Regions from separate parts of the Homo sapiens genome. Here regions 1, 2, 4, 5, 6 and 7 are each linked to region 3. Evidence: promoter capture Hi-C in 16 types of primary human blood cells and fetal thymus (Javierre and others, 2016). All regions are on one chromosome and are shown on one strand. Each heading gives the region's core, a stretch centred on a gene start or on the middle of the fragment in contact. The rest is flanking DNA. Distances are from core to core; before and after follow the strand shown.

The links. The method cuts DNA at HindIII sites, captures the fragments that hold promoters and counts their contacts. A CHiCAGO score of 5 or more calls a contact.
Region 1: a contact is called between a fragment that was not itself captured here and the fragment with the promoter of TTC14 in region 3, in 1 of 17 cell types (monocytes). The highest score is 6.3, in monocytes.
Region 2: a contact is called between a fragment that was not itself captured here and the fragment with the promoter of TTC14 in region 3, in 6 of 17 cell types (total CD8 T cells, naive CD4 T cells, naive CD8 T cells and 3 more). The highest score is 7.8, in total CD8 T cells.
Region 4: a contact is called between the fragment with the promoter of GNB4 here and the fragment with the promoter of TTC14 in region 3, in 2 of 17 cell types (M2 macrophages and monocytes). The highest score is 6.2, in M2 macrophages.
Region 5: a fragment that was not itself captured here is called in contact with the fragment with the promoter of TTC14 in region 3 in 4 of 17 cell types (total CD8 T cells, total CD4 T cells, naive CD4 T cells and 1 more); the score reaches 7.2 in total CD8 T cells.
Region 6: a fragment that was not itself captured here is called in contact with the fragment with the promoter of TTC14 in region 3 in 1 of 17 cell types (non-activated CD4 T cells); the score reaches 5.7 in non-activated CD4 T cells.
Region 7: a contact is called between the fragment with the promoter of ZMAT3 here and the fragment with the promoter of TTC14 in region 3, in 5 of 17 cell types (total CD8 T cells, naive CD8 T cells, M2 macrophages and 2 more). The highest score is 7.6, in total CD8 T cells.

Annotation. Positions count from the first base shown.
Region 1 is chr3:179,429,572-179,433,254 of GRCh38, reverse strand. All of the region lies in intron 1 of GNB4 (G protein subunit beta 4), which reads left to right. Among named protein-coding and RNA genes, the nearest start is that of GNB4, 20 kb to the left of the region's middle. RefSeq lists an enhancer at 929-988. The HindIII fragment of the contact is 4,091 bases long and covers 376-3,683 here.
Region 2 is chr3:179,569,621-179,573,616 of GRCh38, reverse strand. ACTL6A (actin like 6A) reads right to left here. Exons shown (of 14, transcript NM_004301.5): 2 at 3,717-3,793; 3 at 3,376-3,550; 4 at 148-248. It overlaps LOC124909462 (a long non-coding RNA gene), which reads left to right. Exons shown (of 2, transcript XR_007096181.1): 2 at 1,847-2,094. Among named protein-coding and RNA genes, the nearest start is that of ACTL6A, 8.7 kb to the right of the region's middle. The HindIII fragment of the contact is 1,020 bases long and covers 2,171-3,190 here.
Region 3 is chr3:180,600,325-180,603,907 of GRCh38, reverse strand. TTC14 (tetratricopeptide repeat domain 14) reads right to left here and starts at 1,745. Exons shown (of 12, transcript NM_133462.4): 1 at 1,486-1,745; 2 at 893-1,017; 3 at 585-784. The coding sequence starts at 1,646. It overlaps TTC14-DT (TTC14 divergent transcript), which reads left to right and starts at 1,795. Exons shown (of 3, transcript NR_183700.1): 1 at 1,795-2,005. RefSeq lists an enhancer at 1,665-1,954. The HindIII fragment of the contact is 2,365 bases long and covers 1-2,089 here.
Region 4 is chr3:179,450,128-179,454,064 of GRCh38, reverse strand. GNB4 (G protein subunit beta 4) reads left to right here and starts at 2,595. Exons shown (of 10, transcript NM_021629.4): 1 at 2,595-2,719. It also overlaps the pseudogene RPL29P34. RefSeq lists silencers at 2,425-2,574, 2,615-3,024. The HindIII fragment of the contact is 16,902 bases long and covers 578-3,937 here.
Region 5 is chr3:179,551,634-179,555,454 of GRCh38, reverse strand. No RefSeq gene overlaps it. Among named protein-coding and RNA genes, the nearest start is that of ACTL6A, 9.4 kb to the left of the region's middle. The HindIII fragment of the contact is 1,633 bases long and covers 462-2,094 here.
Region 6 is chr3:179,022,043-179,026,029 of GRCh38, reverse strand. ZMAT3 (zinc finger matrin-type 3) reads left to right here. Exons shown (of 6, transcript NM_022470.4): 6 at 802-3,987. The coding sequence ends at 1,013. Among named protein-coding and RNA genes, the nearest start is that of ZMAT3, 48 kb to the left of the region's middle. The HindIII fragment of the contact is 6,996 bases long and covers 1-3,987 here.
Region 7 is chr3:179,069,625-179,073,137 of GRCh38, reverse strand. It overlaps ZMAT3 (zinc finger matrin-type 3), which reads left to right and starts at 1,329. Exons shown (of 6, transcript NM_022470.4): 1 at 1,329-1,543. RefSeq lists silencers at 903-1,312, 1,453-1,602. The HindIII fragment of the contact is 9,531 bases long and covers 1-2,339 here.

The sequences.
Region 1 (3,683 bases), core at 1,172-3,671, 1.2 Mb after region 3:
CATGCTTGATGCCTGTTTGTCTTCATCTTTGGGGTTCATTTATCAGATCTGTGTTATTGGGAGAAGTCCCACTCAATTTTCTGTTTTGCCTATAACTAGTGTAGATGGAAAACTTTCTGTCTGTAATCACTTCGTGTTTTTATCATTATTTCAGGAAAAGTCTGATCAGTGAGAAATGATTTTTTTGGTTTACTGCCTTCTCAGATTGGGCTCTTGATTATTTTAAACTTTAAGGAACACTGAATTAATTGATGCTGCAGTTAGTCCGCCTGGCTAAGACCCAATGGAGGATTTCTTCAGTAGTGGGTGACTGTCTTGCCAATTTCCACCCCCCCTCCACTTTCCATATTTTTCTTTTCCTCACATCACAAAGCTTCAGACATCCTTTTGCCACTTCCCTGATTTCTGTTTCTTATTAAACTATGGATGTAAAGGAACTGCAGGAGGGCAAGTGGTTAGATGACTTTCTCTTCTGCTGTCAAAATGTGTCCTTAAAAACCTGCCCTTCCCTGAATTTACGCATGCTTCTGATAAACAGCCTGAGGGAGCTACTTACTAAACTATACCTGATGTAATAGTATTGTTTCCAAGAATTAAAAATTTTTATAGTCATATTGTGTACACACATGTCAATACAGTTTGGCCACTTTGGATCCTTACCTTCAAAACATATTTACTAGGACTTGCCATATTAGGCTTCACCTGGGGCATCCTATGGCCTTTTTTTACCCTAGTCAGCCTTTAGGTTTGTCTTAGAGTAGTTTATAATCTATTGGTCTGTGCTAGATTCATGCTTTATTGGTATTCTCAGGAATCCAACAGTTGTTGGCTGAGAAGAAAAGATCACCCAAAAATCTGTGTAATCAGAATGTTCTCTCTCCCAAGTGACAAAATGAATCAGTTGTGTTTTTTTTTAAAGAGTGAAAAGTTAGTTCCTCTTTTTAGCAGCAAAAAGGAAAGGGGAAAAAAGGGCAGCTTTGACATTTCTTTTTAGACATCCAAAGAAAGGTTGCGGTTGTCTGGCACAGGCATCACAAGGGTTCTGATTTTGCAGCTTAGCAACATTTCTCAGCCCCTTGCCTCATAACTACGCTCCCTTTCCATCATGCCTGCCCAAACATAGCCGGAGCCTGCTGGACATGAGGTTTGAGAACTGAGAATTTCATGTGAGAAAGTGGGGTCATGTGTAGGCAGTTCTCTTTAAAAGTCCTTGGTGAAGGGAAGAAAAAGGACTGTAAGTGATGGTGCAATGTGGAGTCAAGGAATTTTTTCTTTTTTCTTTTTCTTTTTAAGGGAGGGACTTGGGCCTATTTAGCTGCTGGTGGAAAAGACCCACTTGAAACTGAAAGGTTCTCCACAGATTGTTTGCTGGATGAGAGTGAGGGATTATAACTCCACAGTGGACAAATTAAGCTGTTAACAGCTGAACACACTGAGGAATCTTAGCTTCACTGATAGTAGCACAAAGAAACATTAAGTTCATCCTGATGTGCTACAGTATGAAGTCCACAGCATCACCTGGAAGGATTCTTGCCAAATATATTGAACCTGAATATAATCTAGCCGGTAGATCTAACTTCCTTCCAGTTTACAAGCAATCAGTATAGAAGATAAACAAGTTAAACAGTACCATAAGAAGTAAACAGATTGGGGTACATTGTGTAGGACAAGTGATTTAGTCTTTTTTTTTTTTTTTTGAGACAGAGTCTCACTCTTCACCCAGGCTGGAGTGCAGTGGCGCAATCTCAGCTCACTGCAGCCTCTGCATCCTGGGTTCAAGCGATTCTCCTGCCTCAATTTCCCGAGAAGCTGAGATTACAGGCGTTTGCCAAGATGCCTGGCTAATTTTTTTGTATTTTTAGTAGAGATGGGGTTTCGCCATATTGGTCAGGCTGGTCTCGAACTCCTGGCCTCAAGTGATCCACCCGCCTCGGCCTCTCAAAGAGCTGGGATTACAGGTATGAGCAACTGCACCTGGCTGATGATTTAGTTTCTCTAATAAGTCAATGTCAGAAAGTGCAAAAGAGCAGGCAGGAGATGGATACTTCTAGATGGTGGGACAAGAGACATAGCTAAATGTATTATATAGTTCTTAATTGGATCTGGATTTGCACAAATCAGATGTAAAAAGACATTGGTGGAAGAGTTGGGAAAATTTGAAAATCTACTGGGTTTTAGATATTAAATAATTTCTGTTAATTTTGGTAGTTATGATAATAGTATTGTGGTTTGGTAGATATTGAAGTATTTAGGGCTGAAATGTCTTGATGTCTGTAACTGACTTTAAAATACTTCAGCAAAAACAAAAGATAAAGCAAATACAGCAAAAAAAATTAATACTTTGTGAAGCTATGATGAATATTAGGGTTGTTCAGTCTTTCTCTGTGTTAGAACATTTTATAAATAAAAAGACTAAAAATAGAGAAAAGTGTAAGAGATTGAATATACTGGAAGTATAAGATTACTTAAAAGGTGAGAGTTTAAATCACTGGTGGAGGGGCTGGGCATGGTGGCTCATGCCTGTAATTTTAGCACTTTGGGAGGCCAAAGTGGGAGGACCAGTTGAGGCCAGGAGGTCAAGACCAGCCTGGGCAACATAGCAAGACACTATTTCTCAAAAAAAAAAAAAAAAAATTAGCCAGGCATGATAATGCATGCCTGTAGTCCCAGCTACTGGGGGAGGCTGAGGTGGAAGAATTGGGTGAGCTCAGGAGTTTGAGGTTACAGTGAGCTGTGATTGTGCTGCTGCACTCCAGCCTGGTTGACAGAGTGACACCCTGTCTCAGAATGAATGAATGAATCACCAGTGGAGGAATTGGCCCAAACAGGAAAGAAGTCAGCTATTCTATTATAAGAGAAAGGAAGGGCCAGGTACAGTGACTTATGCCTATAATCCCAGCACTTTGAAAAGCTCAGGTGGGGGGGATCGCTTGAGCCCAGGAGTTTGAGACAAGCCTGGGCAACATGGCGACCCTGTCTCTACCAAAAAAGAAAAAAGAAAATTAGCTTGACGTGGTAGTGCCCACCTGTGGGCTCAGCTACTTGGGAGGCTGAGGCTGGAGGATTGCTTGAGCCTGGGAGGTTGAAGCTGCAGTTAACCACCACTGCACTCCAGCCTGGGCAGCAGAGTGAGGCCTTTGTCTGTCTGTCTGTCTGTCTGTCTGTCTGTCTGTCTGTCTGTCTCTCTCTCAGTCACACACACACACAAGGAAGATGAGGAATATGAGTCAGTTATGTATGTATAGCTTTGTATATCTAGTAGTGGAAGATTGAAAAAGTTCATGTTTGATGGCTTCTACTTTATGATATAGATGGCAAGGTCATCTGCTGCAAGAGGGCTTGTGAGAAGGTCAAAATTTTGAAAAGATTGCAAAGGAATTTAAATATTTGATAGCAAAAGCAGAAGCAGTGCATACAAAGCTGTGCAGGGTTGCCAGGTAGTTTTGAGGGCCCAGTTGAGATTGGTGATGTGAATTTGTAGTAGAACTGATATGCCCCATTGTTTGACTTTCTCAATCAATGTTTGGCCACTTGAGTGCTGGCTGAAAGAAAGTAGGTAGCTGCTTTCATCCAGGGTTTTGCTTTTGCTGTTGAGTGTGACAAGATGGAAGGGCAGGCAGGCTAGGGTACTGTGAAAAGGCTTGAAGTTCTGGACCTAGAATGCCTGATGAAGTACTGGATGA
Region 2 (3,996 bases), core at 1,431-3,930, 1.0 Mb after region 3:
CCTTTTCCCTAATTTTCAAATTCAAAATATGAATTTCTATGCCTCTTTAAAGAAAAATGTTCATCAAATGAGTAGAAAACTAAAGGAAAAAAAAAAGAAAAAAAAAAAACAACTAGAGAAACGTGAAAAAGAAAATCTTTATCTCACCGGTGCCTCTGACATGAGAACAGGATGGAGACTGGCTTCTGATTTGACATGCATTTTGTAGGTATGATCCAAAATAGCTTGGAAACTATCCCAGTCTTCAACTAGAATATAAGATTAGTAACTTGGAAATAATGCATAGTTGAAGATGAATATAGCATCTTTTGAGAAATTGTTTCTATGACTTAACAATTAATACTTTAGTATACAGAACCTACTGATTTTACAGATCAACTTCATACCACATTACTTTATATAGAGATTACCTTTGCCTTCTAGATATATAGAACTTCTTTTTGGTCCCTCCAGCCCCCAGACCTGTCCCAAATGTAATTAATCTAACAGACCTAAAATATGAAGTAAATGTTATTCAATTCAATAAATACTTATTAGAGGCCCAGAATGTGATCAGAATGATAATAGGAAGTACAGAAGAATTGTATGGCCTTCTGATGATACTACTGCTGGATTTATAAAAAAAAAAAAAAAAGAAAGAATTGTATGGTCTAGACCCGACACTCAAAAAAACTTACAATCTATTTGGAAAAAGACTAAAAGACATGTTAAAAATTCAAAGAAGAGCATCTGTCTTCAATTTGGCTTCCACCTAAACATTCCATTAAAACTACTGACATAAGTCACTAATGACCTTCTTTTTTCTTTTTTTTGAGATGGAGTCTCGTTCTGTCCCCCACACTGGAGTGCAATGGCACAATCTCAGCTCACTGCAACCTCCGCCTCCTGGGGTCAAGCAATTCTCCTCCCTCAGGCTCCCGAGTAGCTGGGATTACAGGTGCCCGCCACCGTACCCAACTAATTTTTGCATTTTTAGTAGAGACAGGGTTTCACCATGTTGGCCAGGCTGGTCTCGAACTCCTGACCTCAGGTGATCCACCCACCTCAGCCTCCAAAGTGCTGGGATTACAGGCGTGAGCCACCGCCCCCAGCCACTAATGACCTTCTACTAGGCAAATTCATGGATACTTAACATTTTTAATCTCATCTGACTTCTCTAAATTATGACAGTATTGCCTACACAAGAGTTTACAAACTTTTCTGTCACAGCCCAAAGAAAAAATGTCATTAATTATATATTTCCACAGGCCCACCTGGATTTTTTTAACTTCTTTCTTAGTGTAAAGCTTTCAATGTCACAGCAGAAAACACCGAGAATAACTGGAATTTTATGCTTCCAGAAACTTTTTCTTTTCTTGTTCTTCCCCTGCTTTTTTTCCTACATCCCTAATTGTTCCCTTTCTTTCTCCTTCAAGGGTACCTTTTATTCTCTATTGGTTAAAATATACAACAAGTTTTTGCTAGAACTCCATCTTCAATCCTCTTCTCATGTTCCAATTTTTTTCAGAGTAATAAAATGCAACTCCATGTCTTAAAATCTTTCTTATAACCTTTTATTCCCGTTTACTGAATTATCACCTGGATGTTCTAAGTACTTTGAACTCAGTGAACCCATTTACTTACTACACATGAAAGAGTTAACACTGCAAGCCTGAGAAAGGCCTGCTTGTAAGGCTGACTCTTAGCTGGTGTCTGGAAACATGACTGGCAAACAGTTCCCTATGTTCATATAAAACTTGTCCCTAAATGGTAAGGGTAGCTCGCTATACCTACACTGTTTATACAATGTGGTTTGTTCTGAACACTTGCTTTCCTTCTGAGAATCTAAAATTTTGTTACATGCCAGGTAGATGGTACCTACATAACCAGCCCTCTGTAAAATCCTTGGGTACTGAGCCTCAGAGTTCTCCTGGAAGGTAACACAGATCATAACTTGTTGCTGGAGGGATTAAGCACATCCTGTGTGACTCCACTGTGAGAAGACTCTCCAAAGCCTGTATCTGGACTTCATCATCCCCTGTCCCTTTTCCCTTTGTCGATTTTGTTTTGTATCTGAATCTTCAGTACAATAAATCTTAGCTGTGAATACAACCATATGCTGAGTCCTGTGAGTGAGTCTTGCTGGTGAATAATTGAACCTGAGAGTGATTTTGGCTATCCCTGATAAGCTTGTTTTTTTTTTTTGTTTTTTTTTTTGAGACAGAGTCTCACTCTGTCACCCAGGTTGGTGTGTAGTCATGAGATCTCAGCTGCAACCTCTGCATCCTGGGTTCAAGTGATTCTCATGCCTCAGCCTCCCAAGTAGCTGGAATTACAGGTGGTACGCATCACCACACCTGTCAAATTTTTGTATTTTTAGTAGAGATGGGGTTTCGCCATGTTGCCCAGGCTGGTCTCAAACTCCTAGACTCAAGCAATCCACCCACAGTCTCAGCCTCCCAAAGTGCTGGGATTATATAGGCGCGAGCCACCACGCATGGCCAACCATGCCTTTTAAAACCGTAACACTTGCTCCTTCCCTTTATATTCCTATCTCAATGCATGGTACTCTCTGTTCAGAGTTACCCCAACCAAAAATCTAGGAAACTTTCTCAACTTCTCTCTTGCTTTCACTCCCTCGATCATTTAGTACCATTTGTCTCCTGGTTACCCTGAAAGTCCCTTCAGAATCTCTACCAGCATTATATAATAGTTTAAACCTTTTTCATTTCTCATCTGGACTCTGACCATCACATCTGTTTAAATTCCTTTGGGGTTATCCTTCAGTCACTAGCTTAATACAACCCTGGGATGGTTTACAAGCCCTTTTATGACTGCTCCCTGCCTACCTTTCCTGCTACTGCTCTCTGCCTACCTTTCCTGCTACTGACCCTAATAAGCCCAATGCTGCAACCATACTTAATTGTATTACATTTTCAAGCACATAAGTTTCTTTCACAATTCCATCCCTTCACACATGCTGGTCCCTTTGCTTTACCCAGCTTTGTCAGCCAAGCTAATTCTTACTCATTGATCAAGATTCATCATGTTACCTCCTTTGTGAAAACCATCACTGACTCCCAACACTAGAGTCAAATACCTCTCCTCTCTAATCCCATTGCTCATTGCACATACCTATATTGTACCACTTATCCCACAGTGTACCATTATTTGTATATATACATCTATTTCCCCCAACTAACTGTAAGCTTTTAATGAAAAGGAACATTTCTTATGCATCTTTGTATTCTCAGTGTCTGGAAATCAGTTTGTGGAATAAAAAACAAAACAAAACAAAAAACCATGGTTGATGTTCAACTTATAGGAAGCTACTACTTTGTATCTAAAATATAACATGTACACTCCATAATCAATTCCATGGGGAAAACATCATACCCATCCCATTTTTTAGAGGTGAAATGGCCTCCATATTCTCCCTCGGAACACGCAGAGCATTAGTATCTATGTAGTAGGTGGGACCGCCTTGTTTGCCTTTATCGCCATCTATTTCCATTAATGTGCTTCCGTCATCTCTTTCTACCACCATACCAATAGCTGTAGGAAAATCCACCTGTAAGAGTCAGAAACATGACATACAAGTTTCACCTTTCATCAAGAAGGCATTTTTTCCCCAATTAATGTATTTTATTATATTTTGTTTTGAATCAGAATTTCTGCATAAATTTAATTTACATGAATGGCTTTACATATCCAATTAACTCTAACATTACACTTACCTTGGGGCAGTCCTCACCAGCATAACCAGCTCTCACAGTATAGGATCCAATGTCAAAAACAAGGGCTCCAACTTCATCTGAAAAGATTAAAGATAATTAGCATTAACAGCTTGCAAAAGTATCATATGAAAATCACAGCTCACTGCAGCCTCAACCTCCTAGGCTCAAGCAATCCTCCCGCCTCAGTCTTCCAAATAGCTGGGACTACAATGAATTTCTTAAATTTTTTGTAGACATAAGGTCTCACTATGTTGCCCAGGCTGGACTCAAACTCCAGGGC
Region 3 (3,583 bases), core at 496-2,995:
AAATGCCAATTCTCCAAAGTATTTTGTCTGTTATCCAATCTGTAATACCTTCTGCTTTTCTTCCTTTTTATCTGCCTGGATAGATGGCAAATACCCAATCTTTTATCGTGACACATTAGTTTAAATTCAGGACTATCCATCTTGGGCAAAGTATCTTAATATAATGTACAAACCACTTACATTTAATTATTGTAAATATATAAATGAAACTTCTCTCCAAATTATCCACATGAAAATATACAATGCCAAATATTAACTAATTAAGAATACATATGTTCAACTACAAGAAATAAGTCTGAATATCAATCAACCTCACCACGTCCACTGATACCTCTTTGAGCATTTAGAAAAGAACACTGTGCCTGCCAACCAGTTTAAATTTAAAAAATCCCAAAAACCAGAAATGGAGGGAGAAACTGGGTAACTTACACTAATTTTTTTAAACTATTTTTCTCCAATTAACATTTAATTTCCAAAAGCATCTTGGCAGGTATACTTGAGCACAACTGCATGCAAAGATATAGTTCTTGCATTGAGATGCGTTAACAAAAACAGAAGCAATCCAAGTAACAAAAATAACTTACTGTGATTTCTAAGTGGGCTATATCTCTCATGATACCACTTCCTAAACAGATCAACACCATGAAAAAACCGAATTCCCGAATAGAACTAATTCTTCCAATCACTATATCACCACGCTCAATATCTCGGAAAAACAGCTCTCTCCGATCCATACTAGGTATCTCCATGAATTGCTCTAAAGGTGGCATGATTGCATAATGATCTAAAAAAAAAAAATTAACAAAATCACTAACGATAGTTTTGAGTTCCGTTTCACCTGAAGTACTGTTAAACCGAACCGCAATCTTAAAGATTTTAAGGCTAAACTGACCTTCACTGTCTTCATTAATTTCAGAAGTTGCAGGTGCATCTGATTTCCAGGAAAGTGCAAAAAGCAGATCCGCTTTTTTGGAGATGAATTTCTGTATCTCGATGTTGTCAACTCTCTTCTCTTTTCTTAAAAAGAAAAAAATATATATGAAAATTGGGTTATCTGCAAAGCCTCTTTACTTCTAACCTTCTGCTTATGGCTTTCATCGCCCATTCCGCTCCATCCTAAGCTGCAGACAATACAACCTCAGACAAAAAGTTTTAACTAGGCATTCCCTCATTAACCAACCTGGAGGTGGAGAGCGGGGAAACTTAAAAAGTGACGCCTCCAACTCAGATAGGAAAGCTCAAGGGATTTTTAGCTAAGGAATCTGCGCCTCTACCAAGCAGTGCCAGAGAAAAAGTTCAGCCCGCATCCCGCATTGCACAACCCAGGAGCGCCCCCCGTCCACCCAGCCCAAGACACCAGCGCGCGATCGTCCTGTGCTCACGGCCGCGGCTCCACTTCCTCTAGACGCAAACCCGGGGCTGCGGTAGTGGCTGCCAGAGCTGCGTCCCCTCTTCCGTGGCGCAGTGGCACCAACGTCTCATTACCTGCCCTGCAACGGGTGCTGGGGCGGCGGGCCCCGGGCTGGCTCGGCGGCCGACCCCAGGAGGCTACGGAAGTGTGGATTGTCCTGCTGTTCGCTCCGAAGTAGAGAGAGCAAAGACGACCCGTGGCAATTTAGCGACTGCCGCAAAAGGTCCCGGTCCATGGCTAGAGAATGCAGGGCCCGGAGGCCGACGGGCTGATAGTTCCCTGTTCCGTGTCCGCTACTTGAGCCGGGTGGTACAGGAAGCGGAAGAAACTGTCTGGAGGCTGCCGGAAGTACACAGACAGCACAACCAGTTACACCCGGAAGTGTTCTGGGGTCGCCCCCACGGCGGCGCGGCGGAGCTCAGCCTCGATCTCGCGAAACCGAGCGAGACTACGGAAGGCCGAAGGATTGGGCTCAGCATTGCTTGGGCTAAAGGCTGACTAGGGCTTCCAGGAAGTGATGTATGTGAGAAGTTTGCTTTTTAAAGTGTACGTGGGATCGTTATTACGTCGAAATAGCTCGAGCTGTAACCTAGGGTAAATAATAATTCCTTTTCGTATTCATCAAGGTGCTTCTAAGTGCCAGTGCCAGGGTAAGAACCCTATACGAGTCTCCAAGCTTCTTCCCTCGACGTACTCTCTGCGTAAATCAATACCTGTGTCTCTGGCGTAACCCCATTCAACCGGCTGCTCCGGGAAGGTTTCCAGGTGGTTTTAAGGGCAGAAGAAAGGAAGGACACGGACATTTGTTAAGCACCTGGAGTGGTGTTCTCCATCCATACCCCATTTACTGTTAGTGATTGTGAATTCTAAAACCAGGATGGCTTTAATGTCTCCACACGTGCATATGCCATTCAAGTTTTACAATAACTAATGAACACATGCATTTCTTATTTAGTTTATCTCAATGGTTGCTCAAAATTTAGTGTCTGTGGGACTTACTGTATAGTGGTATGTACGCAAAAGTCAATATACTGTTCTTATGGACAATTCAAGTGATTTTCAAAGGGAATTTCAACTTAGGTCCCCCATCCCCTTACTTACTGACTTGAGAACCTAACCACTATGGTAGCTATTGTACTTTTTCATTTTAGAAAACGAGGAAACATGCTCAGAGAGTCCCAGTAAATTGCTCAATGGCACACAGCTAGTAAGAGGCTAGAGTTAGGATTCCAAACGAAGTATTAATTGGTCTTCTCAGGCAGAGTTGCTGGATTGAGTATTTTATCATATGGAAGGTCTAACTAACCCTAATTTTGAGATCATGTAGCTTCGTTTTATTCCAGTATAAAATTTGTACCATTTAAATATGTTCAGTGTAAATAGTTCAGTATAGTCCTCTTGAACAGAAATAAACGGTGACAGTTAGTCTCTCCACTTCCCACCATGTGTCTTTGAGGAAATCAACTTGCCTTTCACTGTGTTACCACTTTTGTATAGGAGATCTAGCCCAGAACATAATCGATACTGCCACACTGTTTTGTGGAAAACCCAGGCAAATAGGTAAACAGTTTGAGACTTGAGAAAATGCAACAAACAAGAATGCAACTGTAAAAGATAAATTTGGGTTAGGCACGGTGGCTCACACCTGTAATCCCAGTACTTTGGGAGGCCGAGGGTGGATCACTTGAGGTCAGGAGTTCAGAGACCAGCTTGGCCACCATGGCCTAACCCCGTCTCTACTAAAAATACAAAAATTAGCCGAGCGTGGTGGCTCATGCCTGTAGTCCCAGCTACTCGGGAGGCTGAGGCACGAGAATCTCTTGAACTCCGGAGGCGGGGGTTGTAATGAACTGAGATCGCGCCACGGCAGTCCAGCTTGGGCGCCGGAGGGAGACTCCGTCTCAATAAATAAATAAATAAATAAATTTCAAGCTTCTATAGGCATATCAACTTTAATAAATGGTACAGACTGACTTGTTTTAAGCCATAACTCTAGAGAATGGTTGTTTTTAGGAAAGAGTGCTGTCACTGAAAAGGAAAGCTGACCACTAAAAATTATTATAGACATCTTGATAAGTATGTGATTTGTGTTAGAGTCAATCTGTGATCAAGGACCTCATTTTTTGGAGGGACTAAGAAACCGGTGTCTGAGAACCAGACACCAAATAGTGT
Region 4 (3,937 bases), core at 1,346-3,845, 1.2 Mb after region 3:
CCCTTCACCTTTCTCTCTGCCTCCCTTCCCAGTCTCTCTCTTTTGTTCTTCGTGGATTTCATTATCATTGGAAAAATCATGAATTGCTGGATCACTTAGATGCATTAGTGTGCTCTTATGAAATCATTCCTGATGACAAAATTCTTTTAATCAGCTCCACTTTCAGATTTTCAGTATAGGCTTGTCCTTTAACAAGTAAGTTTTTTTTTTTTTTTCCAGAACAATATGGAGCAGGTATGGCAAAACAGAAATACAATATTCTTGGAAGTAGATTCGTTTGGATAATAATTAAACTTTCCTTTTTCTGTACTTGGACTTTATTCTTCTAGTAATTTCTTTGTCTACATTAAATTTTCAGGAAGATTGACGATATCATTCTTTTAAACTCTTTAAAAGACAGTCAAATTCTTGTTACATCTTTTCAGGTTTTGTATTTTATGTTTAGGAGCTGTTCATTTATATTTCCCCTCATCTTTTCTGGAATAGACTATCTCATTGCTTCCCACTGTGTTTTCCTAAATACCAGCAACTTGTTTTTCAACAAATAATCTTAACCCAACAACCAGCTCTCAAAGCTTTATAACATCTGGTAAATGCTAGTGCACAGGAACAAGGCAGAAAAGAATCTAAAGAAAGAATATGGGGCCGGGATCGGTGGCTCACGCCTGTAATTCCAGCACTTTGGGAGGCCGAGGTGGGCGGATCACCTGAGGTCAGCAGATTGAGACCAGCCTGGTCAACACGGTGAAACCCCGTGTCTACTAAAAATACAAAAAATCAGCCGGGCGTGGTGGCTTGTGCCTGTAATCCCAGACTTGGGAGGCTGAGACACGAGAATCGCTTGAATCCTGGAGGTGGAGGTTGCAGTGAGCTGACATCACATCACTGCACAGTGACTCCGTCTCAAAACAAAAAAACAAACAAAAAAAAGAAAGAATGTGGGCTTTGGAGTTGATCCAATCTGATGTCATGCAGGGCTCTACCAATACCTTCGTGACTCCGATAAATTAATCTTACCAGGGCATCAGTTTGCTTATCTGTAAAATGGGGATAAAATTCACACTTCAAGGTAATTATGAGGATTAAGTACAGTATAAGAAAGCAGAGAGCATGGTCCGTAATAGGCACTCTTTAACAATTTCCCTTTGCTTCCTCCGAAAAACGACAATCATAAAACTCAGGATTTAATCATTAAAACATAAATAGTTACAGATGCAAAACACTCATGTCCCAACGAGCTCTTCTGACACTTTGATATGCAGAATATTTGGCATTTCTTTCTTCTTAATGGAAAAATGCTCCTAATATTAGTAAAAATGAAAATTTTGGGGGAAAAATTATCCACAGTTTCTTTATCTGTGGATAAAGAAAATAGAAACAGCTGCTTCTATTTTTGTCACGGCCTGGCTTTTATACAAAACGGTCACATTTTCCCCACAGTCACAAACAGGGTGTGTTTATCATGGCATCACCTCTTTCAAGGGACTAATAGATTTATTCCAGGTGATAGTGGGAAGCAGCTACAGAAGGAGGATTGGAAGGCTGAGGGGTTGTTAAAGTTATCTGATGATATTGTTCGAACATTTCTCCGGCACAGAAACTCCACAAAGAACTCCTCTGCAGTTTTCGCTACCCAGGGCTGTTTCTTTAAATTGTTTGACGTCAGAGAAGGAATGCTATAGCAACAGTCTGTCAAACTGGAATTAACTCAGAAGAAAAATGGGGGTGGGGAGAGGAAAAATGCTCCCAGGCGGTACTGACTTCAGAGGAAGCAAATTGGATAGATGCATTTATTTTATGACATTTTAAACATAAAACACCCAGATAAATGTGAAAAAAAAAAAAACTCGATTGAGATGCATGTGGTGTTTAACTCATGCAGAGAAGAGCGACTTGGCAGGGATATCTGGAAGGCCTTCCAGTTTTATCAATGACAATAGGAACAATAACTTCCAAGTATTGGCCATTTATTTGGAGGCAGGCTTCGTGCAAACATCACTTCATTTAATATGCTTAGCACCTTTATGAGGCAGGTATCAGTATCTTTATTTTGGCGATGACGAAACTTAGGCCCGAGACGGTACACGGTCCTACAACTAGTGATGGAAGAGCGGGGACTGCAACGCAAGGTTGTGCAACTCTGGGCTTCAGTTTACTTTCTGACATTTAGAATTCCAGAATGGGAAACCTAAATGGGGCCTTTGGGGTCTTCTAGCTCTGCCCTTCGATCCTGCTAACAAGCAAACTGGCGCCTGTCAGCGCCGGAAAGGAAACTGGCCACGCCACTTAGACGGGCGCTACTTAGCAGCGTGCCCCGGCGCCACACCAACAAGAAAACGAAACTGCCCGGGAATGAATGTTTTTCTTCTCCTTCTGGCAGGAAACGAGAGAGAAAATAGGAAGCAGAAGCTGCGCGCGGCGCCCGCTCCCTTCGCCCCCCGCCCGGGCTGCGCGCGCTCCGAGGGTCTGCGCGTCCCCGGCACGTCCCCGCCGGGCCCGCGCGCCTCGTGCCTCGCGCCTCGCGCCTCCAGCCACGTCCCCGCCCCGGCTCCGGCGCGCCGCGGAGTTGGCTGCTGGGAGGTGCGGGACTGGGTGTGGCCGGCGGCTCTGGTCTCGGCTGTGAGCTGCGCTCTCCACGCCGGCTCCGCGCTCCAGGGGCTGCTGAGCGCCCAGCGGACACCGGCAGCGCGCGGTCGACGCGGGCCTGAGCTCCCTCCAGGTAGGCGGCGAGCTCGCGAGCGGCGGCTCGTCGGTGCGCCCCGCGAAGCGATCCCGGGCTTCTCGCAGGGACGTGGGGCGCCGCGAGCCACCCCTGCGGAACGGGGCCCGGGTGACGGCGCGGGGCGGGGCGGGTCTCCCCGGGCTCGGGCGGCCGACGCTGCCCGGGAGGGACGAGGAGGGCGCGCCTGTGTCGCGCCCAGCTGCCACGCGGGAACTGGCCCCACGACCGCCGGCGCAGGCACTTCCCGGGCGGTCCAGACCGCTCGCCCCGGGGAGCGAGGAACGGTCGGCGGTCCAAGTCCTGCAGACCCCCCTGGTTTCTCGTCACTCCCCGAGGCCTCCTTCCAGGAACTCAGAGCACGAGCCCGTGCGTGCCCCCAAAATAACGGGTATTCGGGACTGCCCAGCAGGGCTGTTGGGTGGAGAGTGCTTGGAAGACTCATAAAAGTTCTACGCTGAGTCCAAAATTAGTCCAATGGTTTTGTTTCAGATTTATTTTGGAAATGATATAATGTCCAGAGTTTGGGGATGGGAGGGGATTGATGAATTTTGAATACTTGTGAGTTCAGTACAATAAAAAGTGTTTTGCTTTTCTCTCCACCTTTTTCTGCTTCAGAACACAGATGATTGCCATATACTTTGATATGTATTGCTATTCGCTAAGGGAACGTTGAATTTTCAAAAGTTTGAAACCAGGCTTTCATTTGTTTATACAAGCAATACTTTGTTATTTTTCGTCTCCTTGTGTTCCCTTTTCTCCCACTCCTTCCCTTTCTCTTTCCATAAAGGATAAGGATGCATCTTTCTCCCTCTCAGCCACCGACAAAGTAGCTTGGCGTGTGGCTTAGCGGGAAGTTTTCTTAAAACGTTCAAAATTTAATTGTTGATTAGAACTTTTATTATGAGTCCGTCTCAGTGTTGCAAACAGAGTTTATGACCATTAAGTACATCTTCTAGGACAGAGACAGAACACACGCTACTTAATTTAAGATGGGAGGGAAGTTATTTCTAGTCGGAGAGGAGGACGGCTGATTAGGTGCATTCAAAATTGTGTGCTTCGAGTCTCTGCCATTGTTCATTTTAATACTCTTCAGTTTGGGGCTTTTGGTTTACTACTGATCCTAGGCTCTGAAAATTTACTGTATATTTCAGTATGTGGCTTAAAGACATTTTAAGATTTTCCATGTTGCATTTTGGTTTGTAGATGAATTTGAAA
Region 5 (3,821 bases), core at 29-2,528, 1.0 Mb after region 3:
GGGTTCACACCATTCTCCTGCCTCAGCCTCCCGAGTAGCTGGGACTACAGGCGCCCGCCACCACGCCTGGCTAATTTTTTGTATTTTTAGTAGAGACGAAGTTTCACCATGTTAGCCAGGATGGTCTCGATCTCCTGAACTTGTGATCCGCCCACCTCAGCCTCCCAGAGTGCTGGCATTACAGGCATGAGCCATCGCGCCCAGCCCTTATTTTTTTTAAGCAGGAGGTGGAGGGAGGTGGGAAAGTTTTTTTCTTTCTTTTTTTTTTTTTTTTTTTTAGGAAAAATCTATGAGAAGCAGGGAGATTATTATTTTTATTTTCCCCCTCTTACTAACCACTATACAAATGAGAAGGGATTAATTATTAGTTATGAAAATCATTGGTCTTTGCAAAATTATTCAAATAAATGCCAGTTACCAGCTCTACCTAAACTGACTGGACGAAAGCCTATATTTAAGCTTACTATTGTGTTTGTTAATTTCTAATAAAACCTGCTCCCCAAATGGTCATAATCCAGAAGGAAAAACTAAATTATTGAAGAATTTGAGCATTAAATTAGGCCATAATCAGCCTATCGTGCCTACTTGATATTACGAAGTTAGCATTGTTGAGTGCACACTCTCCTTGCCACTCCTCCCCTTACCTCATATAACCTAGAGAATCATGTTATGATACTCTAGGATCACTCACCTTGGATATCAACTGTCAGACTTTGATAAACTCCCACAGGGATTTAAAAGCCTCTGTACTATCTGTGGTATGCCAGATCCAGAAGCACATAGGGACTCTAGACTGGATGACAAAAGCAAGAAGAATAATTTACAAGTAGAACCTGTGATCATTCCATATACACTTGACCCTTGAACAACATGGATTTGAACTGTGCAGTTTCAAAATATGTGATTTTGTTTGTTTATTTGTTTTTTGCTTTTTTGAGACAGGGTCTCACTCTGTTGTCTAGGCTGGAGTGCAGTGGCGTGGTCTCTGCTCACTACAACCTCTGCCTCCCGAGTTCAAGTGATTCTCCTACCTCAGCCTCCCAAATAGCTGGGATTACAGGCGTGTGCCCTCACGTGCAGCTAATTTTTTTTTTGTATTTTTAGTAGGGACGGATTTTTGCTATGTTGACCAGGCTGGTCTTGAACTCCTGACCTCAAGTGATCCACCTGCCTCCGCCTTCCAATGTGCTGGGATTACAGGTGTGAGCCACCACACCTGGCCATGAATTTTTTTCAATAAATATATTGGAAAATTTTTATCAGTGACAGTTTCAAAAGACTGACAAATGAACTGCATAGCCTAGACATATCCAAAAAGTTAAGAAAAAGGCATGTCATCAATGCATAAGATATATGCAGTTACCAGCTATCATTCACTAACGTAATACACAAATCTATTATAAAAAGTTAAAATTTATAAGAACTTATTATACACACAAACAGATCTTACATGGGCCCCATTCACAGTCAAGAGAAATAAAACAAATGTAAAAATGCAGTATTAGGCTGGGCAATGTGGCTCACGCCGGTAATCCCAGCACTTTGGGAAGCTGAGGCGGGCAGATTGCCTGAGCTCAGGAATTCGTGACCAGCCTGGGCAACAAGGTGAAACCCCATCTCTACTAAAAATGCAAAAAAATTAGCTGGGTGTGGTGGCAGGCGCCTGTAGTCCCAGCTACTCCGGAGGCTGAGGCAGGAGAATCGCTTGAATCTGGGAGGTGGAGGTTGCAGTGAGCTGAGATTGCACTGCTGCACTCCAGTCTGGGCGACAGAAAGAGACTCCATCTCAAAAAAAACCCAAAAAACCAGATTGTGTATTTATAGAGTATGTTGTTATTTTATTAAAAGTTATGTGTAAAAATTATACAAATAAAACTGTGTGTAACTACATAATTATATATAATTATTATATATTATGTGTGTAACTACATGTAATTATATATTAAAATATAGTTATATATGTCTATATGTAAAATTATATCTATATCTTTATATAGATAAGCAGATAATATAAGCAAAGGAAAAAAGCCTGATGTAATATGTACCGAAATGTTAGCCTAAGGACTAAAACCTCAACCTGGGATTGTAAAAGCTTTTCTTAGTATAAAAGTTTAAATTTTTTTTTTTTTTTTTTTTTTTGAGACAGAGTCTCACTCTGTCACCCAGGCTGGAGTGCAGTGGTGCGATCCTGGCTAACTGCAACCTCTGCCTCCCAGGTTCAAGCAGTTCTCCTGCCTCAGCCTCCTGAGTAGCTGGGACTACAGATGCCTGCCACCATGCCCGGCTCATTTTTGTATTTTTAGTAGAGACAGGCAGGGTTTCACCATATTGGCCAGGCTGGTCTCGAACTCCTGACCTCAGGTGATCAGCCCACCTCGGCCTCCCAAAGTGCTGAGATTATAGGCGTGAGCCACCATGCCTGGCCTAAATGTTTTTTAAAAAGCAATCATCTTAAAACAAATTTATGGTACAAAATGAAACATTTTAAAATGTACATATTACTAGTTATATACAATCACTTTTGTCTCTTTCTTTTCAATGCTCGTCTGTACTTTATACTTGTCAAAATTTACATATTTTCCTAGTTTTCTTTGCTTTATTCCTGTTGTATGCTCAGGGTCAGCAGCTTGCAATAAACCACAGTTTAAAAAATAATATTAGGCTGGGCCGGGCGCGGTGGCTCACGCCTGTAATCCCAGCACTTTGGGAGGCCAAGGCGGGCGGATCACGAGGTCAGGAGATGGAGACCATCCTGGCTAACATGGAGAAACCCCGTCTTTACTAAAAATACAAAAAAAAATTAGCCGGGTGTGGTGGCGGGCGCCTGCAGTCCCAGCTACTCGGGAGGCTGAGGCAGGAGAATGGCGTGAACCCGGGAGTCGGAGCTTGCAGTGAGCCGAGATCGTGTCACTGTACTCCAGCGTGGGCGACACAGCGAGACTCCGTCTCAAAAAAAAAAAAAAAAGGCTGGGCACAGTGGCTCACGCCTGTAATCTCAGCACTTCTGGAGGCCAAGGTGGGCGGGTGATCACCTGAGGTTAGGAGTTCGAGAGCAGCCTGACCAACATGGTGAAACCCCATCTCTACTAAAAATACAAAAATTAGCCTTGTGTGGTGGCGGACGCCTGTAATCCCAGCTACTTGGGAGGCTGAGGTAGGAAAATCGCTTGAACCTGGGAGGCAGAGGTTGCAGTGAGCCAAGATCACACCATTGCACTCCAGCCTGGGTGACAGAGCAAGACTCTGTCTCAAAAAAAAAAAAAAATTAGATAAAAGTTGTGATTATGATCTTAGTGATAATAATGTAAAATAGAGCAAGTTTAGGTAAAATTTCTAAAAATAAGCTTTCTTGGGGAAAACCAACACACTCACAAATGTTACTCTCAAGTGTTACTCAAGAACCTTTCAGAAGGGATATCATGTGGAATCCTTCAGAATCTCTTTGTTTGTATGTCCCTGGAGACAGACACCAAAAACTTCCAGGAGCATTGCTACTCTGTGTTTCTTACTACAGCCCAATTGGCACAATGGGAACAACTCTGATGCTTTTAATAGCTGTAAGAACTACAGTTGACCCTTGAACAATGCAGGGGTTAGGGTTAGCCTAAGTTAACTACTAACAGCTTTCTGATGACTATTTATGGATAATGTAAATAGTTGATTAACACATATTTTATATGCTTGTACTGTATTCTTACAATAAATTAACCTAGAGAAAAGAAAATGTAATTAAAAAAATCTTAAGGAAGAGAAAAATACGTTTACAGTACTGTAAATGTATTTATAGACACTGTAGATTTATGTCATCTGTTTACAAGATG
Region 6 (3,987 bases), core at 345-2,844, 1.6 Mb after region 3:
TAGGATGCAGTGAAAGCAGTATTTTGAGAAAAGTATTACCTATATATTATTATAGTGGAAGTGAAAAGCATAAAGTTAACGAACTAAGCGTCCAGCTTATGAGGTCAGTAATGTAAAAAGAAGAAAATGAAATGATCAGTAATGTCACCAACACTTTTGCAGATTTCATTCTAGTCTCTTCATATGTATGACTTCTTTAAAATAGAAATGGGATCCTAGTTTGGGATATTCATAGTTTACTTAATAGCGTAAGAGTTTTCTATAGCATTATTATATTTAGCAATGGCATAGTTTTCCATTGCATTCATTACCATACTTTCTTTAATCCTATTTTTGAATCTCTTCTTCCCCCTAAATTTTTGCTTTTATAATCACTGCTGAGATAAACATATTGCTATTAAATCTCAGTGTGAAAATTCTTAGTATTTTCTTAGGATAATTCTTACAAGTAGAATTTTTGGATTAAAGGGTTAGCATAAGCATAAGACTTCTGATATAATGCTTGGAAATTAAAGTATTTTTAAAAGCGTATTCACTTTTTTAGAGACACAGCCATTTGGAATTTGGGTTTGGCTCTACAGCAATTTTTCTGACAATGGTTGGAGGAATCATTTTATCTTTTTAGATCGAACCTGTGTAAAATTGTAATTTTAAAAATCCATTAACTTCACATTCACTTAAAGCTAAGAATCTGTGAATTTTATAATTTGAACTTAGAATTACAAATTACAGTGATAATTGGTCAGGTTGTCATTCACTTAATGAATATTTTGAATATATTATTTTTATCTCTTGCTTTAGCAGGTCCTTACTTCAATCCCCGCTCTCGGCAGAGAATTCCACGTGATCTGGCCATGTGTGTTACTCCAAGTGGCCAGTTTTACTGCTCAATGTGTAATGTTGGAGCTGGCGAAGAGATGGAATTCCGGCAGCATTTAGAGAGCAAGCAACATAAGAGCAAGGTGTCTGAACAGCGGTACAGGAATGAGATGGAGAATCTGGGATATGTATAGTGATTATCATATTAAGATAGAGCAGCTTTTCCTGCCTGTTGTTTGCCTTTTGTCAACTTGCCCTGCTTTGTGGTCTTTTTGATATGAGTACATTCCTCTGCTTAATGTTAATACATGTAACCCACAGTGGTACCATGAGATGTCAAAACCTGGGGGCCCGGGGGCGGGGCGGGGGGAGGTGGGTGTGAAGAACGTGCTTCTTAGGTCATAACGCTTTTGCAGGGTCAATGGTGTTGAGCCGCTCATAGCATGTGACCTACCTACCCCATCAGAAATAACTTTTTATCTTGCTCAAGTTCTGGTCAACTAGTAGCCTGACGGCTTAGAACTTTGACTATTTAAAAGTTTCATTTTCTTTTGCAATTTTAGTTTTATGTACTGTTAAAGAATTGTACTGAATTCTTTTTAGATCACAGTAAAAATAGGTTGGCAGAGATTTCAGTTTCCCAGGGCTTAACCAGAACCGCCACCTCAATGCATTGTCAGTAGAATACATTATTAGAAACTGTTAAGGTCTTTCCCGGGACATTTTTTTCTGCCATTTTCTTTTGCAATTGTAGTTTTATGTACTGTTAAAGAATTGTATTGAATTCTTTTTAGATCAAAGTAAAAATAGGTCAGCAGAGATTTCAGTTTCCCAGGGCTTAACCAGAACCGCCACCTCAATGCATTGTCAGTAGGATACATTATTAGAAACTGTTAGGGTCTTTCCCAGGACATTTTTTTTTCTGTATCATGTCTCCCCATCATTGAAGCGCAAATTTTCTTGAATTCAAATACTCCCAATGAGCTTGTATACTTCCAAACAGCTAAACTTGATTTCCAGTTGTGGATTTCACACATATAATTGCCGCCTTCTTCCCTCCTCTTTTTTCCCCCCTAGTTGAATCAGCTTGTCTAACAAGCCCATTTTCATGCCCCAGCTGTGCTGTGGGTTTTCCAAGCCTCATATTTGAATATTCAATGAGTTTAAGATGGATATGATTTCAAAAAATAGGGCCGGGCGCGGTGGCTCACGCCTGTAATCCCAGCACTTTGGGAGGCCGAAGCAGGCGGATCACGAGGTCAGGAGGTCGAGATCATCCTGGCTAACACAGTGAAACCCCATCTCTACTAAAAATACAAAACATTAGCCGGGCGTGGTGGTGGGTGCCTGTAGTCCCAGCTACTCTGGAGGCTGAGGCAGGAGAATGGCGTGAACCCGGGAGGCGGAGCTTGCAGTGAGCCGAGATCGCGCCACTGCACTCCAGCCTGGGTGACAGAGCGAGACTCCGTCTCAAAAAAAAAAAAAAAAAAAAAAAAAAAATATATATATATATAGATATATTTTCCAGCAGTTTTTAGGAAACAAAGGTGTGTTTGATTTTCCAATTTAGAGTTACTTCATTGATAGTAACATGCGCTTATATCATGATCTAAACCATAAGTTCAGATTGCTTGATATTTTGTTTTGCCAGACTTTTTTGATAATCTGATTCTTACGGTTTACTTACATTTTCCTCTGTCTTGCCAGTCTGGTGGCCATCCTGAAAAATATCACCACCTGCTGTTTTATACACAGAGGAATTTTTTAAAAAGCAAATAAAGTTTCACTATCTTCGTTTCCAGTAGAAATATACACGAACTATGGTTTTATTCTTTGTAATTCGGCTTTCTTGAAGATACTAACAAGTATATGATAGATCACTTTGGCATCTGATAATTATATCAGTATTATTATTTTTGTTTTTTTGCGTTTAAAATAAGAAGTTGTATGAACCCAGGAGGTGGAGGTTGCAGTCAGCCAAGAATCGTGCCACTGCACTCCAGTCTGGGCGACAGAGCAATACTCCGTCTCCAAAAAAAAAAAAAAAGAAGCTATAATATATATCTAGATTAACTAATGGAGTGCTCTGTGAATATTCATTAACTACATTTTATCTATTTACTATATTTTATATGGGTAAGACCAGTGGTCATCCGTATTTCTTTTGAAAGCCCACTTGATCAGGAAGTTTATATTTTAAGCAGTATGTTTGCACAATGGTCAGTTCACATTTGATTGCTTGTATTACTAATTAGAGGTAAAACTTCTATTTTTTCTTGATAATTCTGTAGGCAAAAAAAATTGGGGAAGGCAAATTACAATCATTCTTCTTCTGTAATACTTTGGGACAATTTTTAAACAACTCAGACCCATGTTTAAAAACGAGTTTTGTGTGATTAACCCTTGTATAGTATCCAGTTACTGTCTTCTCTTGAAGTGGTGGTTCTTTGAGAAGTAGAATTATTTTGTAACTTTTCTTCTCCCAGAAACAGAAGAATCAAATACTATTCTGTTAGGATTCTATCTAGACCTGTGACTCTTAGTATAATAACCCTTTTATTATTATTATTATTATTATTTTTTCAGTAATCTATAAAGTAGAGTTGCTTAGTTTTGAGCAATTTAGGGCTTTTCTTATTGGCCAGTAGGTTATTCATTTTGCTGCTAAATATAATTTTTTGGTTAATTTTAACATTATAGTGCTGGCCGCTTGGTTCTATGATTACCTAAAAATCTAGTTTTTTTCCTCCATAGGTAGATGTGTGTGTATGCATACCCCCACACACACACGTACATATATGTTGTCATAGAGAGGTATTTCAACCCTTATTTCAAATAACAGTAGAAGATACGAACATGAATTTATATTTTGTAAAAATGTCATTCATCCACTTTGTTTTCCATTGGAAATAGTTTTATAAGAAGGGTTCCCCTTGCTCTCTCCACTTAACAATTTCATTATATACGTAGAAAAAGCAGCCGACTTAAGGGCTTGATGTTTTTTCAGGCCTTGTGGATTCAGGTTTCCAGTTTCCCAGTGCCCTTAATGGATGTTATGAATGCATAAGCACATTTTCTTTTAAAGAAAGAAGTTAGATTTATAGTGTTATTTCTTACTTGCTATATTTCTTTGCACTAAAAAAGAGCTATGTGTTTGTTTTATAGGAC
Region 7 (3,513 bases), core at 80-2,579, 1.5 Mb after region 3:
TACTTATGAAGTCTTTTATGGTTTGTTGTTGTTGGTATTGGATTGGTGCATTTTTCAGCCAAAGAAACAGCCTTGATTTCCTGCAGTTGTTTCCCTACTAATAGGGCACATCTTACTATACTTAGATCTCCTTGGCATTTTAATTCGTGTTTTAAAAAATAACCACACAATAATGCAAATGTACTTAATGCCACTGAACTGTACTTTTTTTTTTTTTTTTTTTGAGACGGAGTCTCGCTCTGTCACCCAGGCTGGAGTGCAGCGGCGCGATCTCGGCTCACTGCAAGCTCCGCCTCCCGGGTTCACGCCATTCTCCTGCCTCAGCCTCCCGAGTAGCTGGGACTACAGGCGCCCACCACCACGCCTGGCTAATATTTTTGTATTTTTAGTAGAGATTGGGTTTCACCGTGTTAGCCAGGATGGTCTCGATCTCCTGACCCCGTGATCCACCCGCCTCGGCCTCCCAAAGTGTTGGGATTACAGGCGTGAGCCACCGCGCCCGGCCTGTACTCTTAAAGTAGTATATTTGTTATCGTTTGCCACACACAAAAATAATACCCCAGCAGATCTTCATACGAGTTAATTTACGCTATAAGTTTAGAGCCGGAATTTCCTCAGCTCATCACTCAGTGTTAACATTGAAGATGTCCAGGTTGGTTATGAAGGATGTGACATCCTAGCGTTGGCCACTCTTTTCCTGGTCCTTCCTGTCTTGCAGGTGAGCCTCTGGGGGTCAGGAGAAAGTCTCCTCTATCTCCTGCTCACTTTCGTGTAGGGGAGGGAAGGTGTGTGTGTGGGTGGGTGGGGGCGTTTTGTGTGAGGGAGGCCGATACTGGGCAGGCAGCCACGCTCTTCTTCCTCCATCCTGGGGCGGAAGTGGGGAGAGCAGCAGTTTAAAGGTTCTGTTGCAGCAGTTTAAAGGATCCACTCAGCCGCCTTAACCGCCAACCAGCAGGCTAAGGGAGGAACAGAATGAACAATGTTTGGATCCCAATGACTGGAGATGAAAGTTGCAAAAGCTCTGCCCAGGCTTCTACCAAGGATTAACTTTCCAGGGCATCTGCTGAACTGCTCTTCGGGGCTGTCTGCTGAGATTGGCGGCGGGACCCTCCCGCCTCTCACTCGTGCCTTTGTTCCCCACGCCGGCCTAACCCCGCGCCCCTGCGCTCGCGGCCAGGGCACCTGACCCACGCGCCGCCCGCCGGGGATGCGGGAGCCGCCACTGCTACCGCTGCCACCGCTGCCGGGCCTGCTCCGCCAAGCACATGCGCAGTGGCGACGCCGAGCCGGCGCCCTCAGTCTCCTCCTCCACCGCCTCCCGGTTCCGCAGTCACTTCCTGCAGCTGTTTCCCTGTGGGTCGGGTTGGACTGACTTTTGACAGTCAGCCTTCGGCTGCGGAGGGGGCTCGGCGGCGGCCGGCGGAGAAAGTTGCTCCGAGAAGAGGCTGGGTCGAGCTGGGCCGAGCCGGGCGCGCAGGGCGGGCGTCGCGGGCGTCCCGGGCGGACGCGGCGCGGAGACTGCCGGCGCGTCCCGGGGGTTCCGGTAAGTGCGGGCGATTGGGAGCCGCGGAGCTTTCAGGACGAGCCCCTGGAGCGCCGGGGACTAGCGGTTCCTTTCCGATGCTCTTTCCATCTGCCCTCCACGTGACAGGGCTTGCGCTGCTTCTATTTATCAGTTTGCTTGTTTCAGGCATTTCACGTGGACCAGGTGGATCATCTGTGCGTGCAGCTGCCTTGGCCCTCTCAGTTGCCCCCGCCCCGTGGGAGTCGGGGGATTCCATCCTTCGTGATGGCATCCATACCGGGTTGAGGTGCGTGTGTGGGTTCGTGTGTATGCATGCACATCTTAGGAATGTAAGGTGGATGTGGGCGACGCTGAACTGTCTGTAGCTTTGATTCAAATCTGTAAACAGTTCTCTAGGATTAGGAACCGTCACAGCGGAGACTGAAAAACATTCGCCAATTCACCAAGGCCTCTTCCCCAGTTTTCTGCGTTCTTTTGAGCCTTCTTTATAGGATACACCTTGCCTCAAGTGATTATTATTATTATTTTTTTTAACTTTTCTCCCTCTCATTCCTTCTTGCTGCGTTCTGATGACCTCTGAGTAATGCTCGCTGCCTTTCCCTCATTTCCAGAATTCCCAATTACAGACTTACCTAGTTTGCTGAGGTGCTCCTAACCTGTTCCTTTATTCTATTCTCTTTCCTCTGTAGATTTCTCCAAATGAGACAAGAGATTGTCTTTAACACAGTATGTGAAGAGTAGGCCCCAGTCCAATCATTAAAACTAAGTATGCTATGACAATTAATTTTCTTTAAACAGGGTACCTTGTGAAGCTTTGATTTTCTTTAATGTCGTCTTAGCTCCTTTCCAAACCAGGACATTAACCAGCATAAATCCTTCATTTATGCCATCGCAAGCATCAAAGTGACTGGTTTTTAAGATTTGAAGAATATTTATGCCAGTCTTCAAATTAGTCCCTTTTAAACCAATGCAACAGTTGAACAGATCTGAGTTGCATGTTTTGGGTCTCTGTATTCCATCATTCATGCATTCACTGAAGACTTGGTTTTATTCATTTTAAGATTTATATTTTATACTAATTTTTGTTTGCAAATGTACTAATATTTGATGCAATTGTCATACATAGATTTTTTTGAGGAGTCGACATTGTGTTGATTGTTAAATATAACAAGAAATAAATTTGGGATATCAAGCTACTCTTTAAAAATTGTAAAGATCAAATGTGATAATGGGTAAATCTGTGTTTGGCAAGAATTTTTTCTTTAAATCAGGTAACTGTCACCTCTGGTAGGAGGCCTTTTGTGCCTCTGTTCTTTGAGAAGGATCTTTATTTTGAGGGAAACCTGTAGATAACACTGGGGGAGACACATGCTAGAATTTCCTCAAGTGAAAGTGAGCTTTCATAAAACAAGTCCAGACATGCCTAGGCAATTGGTAGCATTTGATTTTCTGTTTATATTGCTGATTTCCTTTATCCAGAGGTTTTGACACCCCCCCCCACCTTTTCACTAATGAACTAGCAGAATGTTTGTGGCAATTTGACATCAGTAGCTTTTCAACATTATGAATTATTATTATTAGGTAGTTAAACTTTTTAAAAGCTGTTCTTTGTCTACTTAGTTCCGTTTTCTAAAATGACCATATCTGTCTTTGCTTTCTGGACTATCTTTGCTTGATTCAATTAAGAGAAATAATACCATTACAGAGAACCTGACTTTTTAAATGTTAAAACTCTATATTGCTTTTCTTTTATGTTCCCAGAGATATGGGCAGTACACTTCTGCTTAAAAATTAAATAATATTATCATTTTTCTAAATTTTGTGATTAATGAGAAGTATTGTTAAATTCTATGACTAATACTTATGCACTTTGTCCTTAACTACATTATTTTCCCATCACGCTGATTTCCTTTGTTGCCTCCCCACCCCAAATTTCGTCTGAAAGTTGTTACTTGATTTTCAGGTGCTGTGTAGTTATCAAATATGGT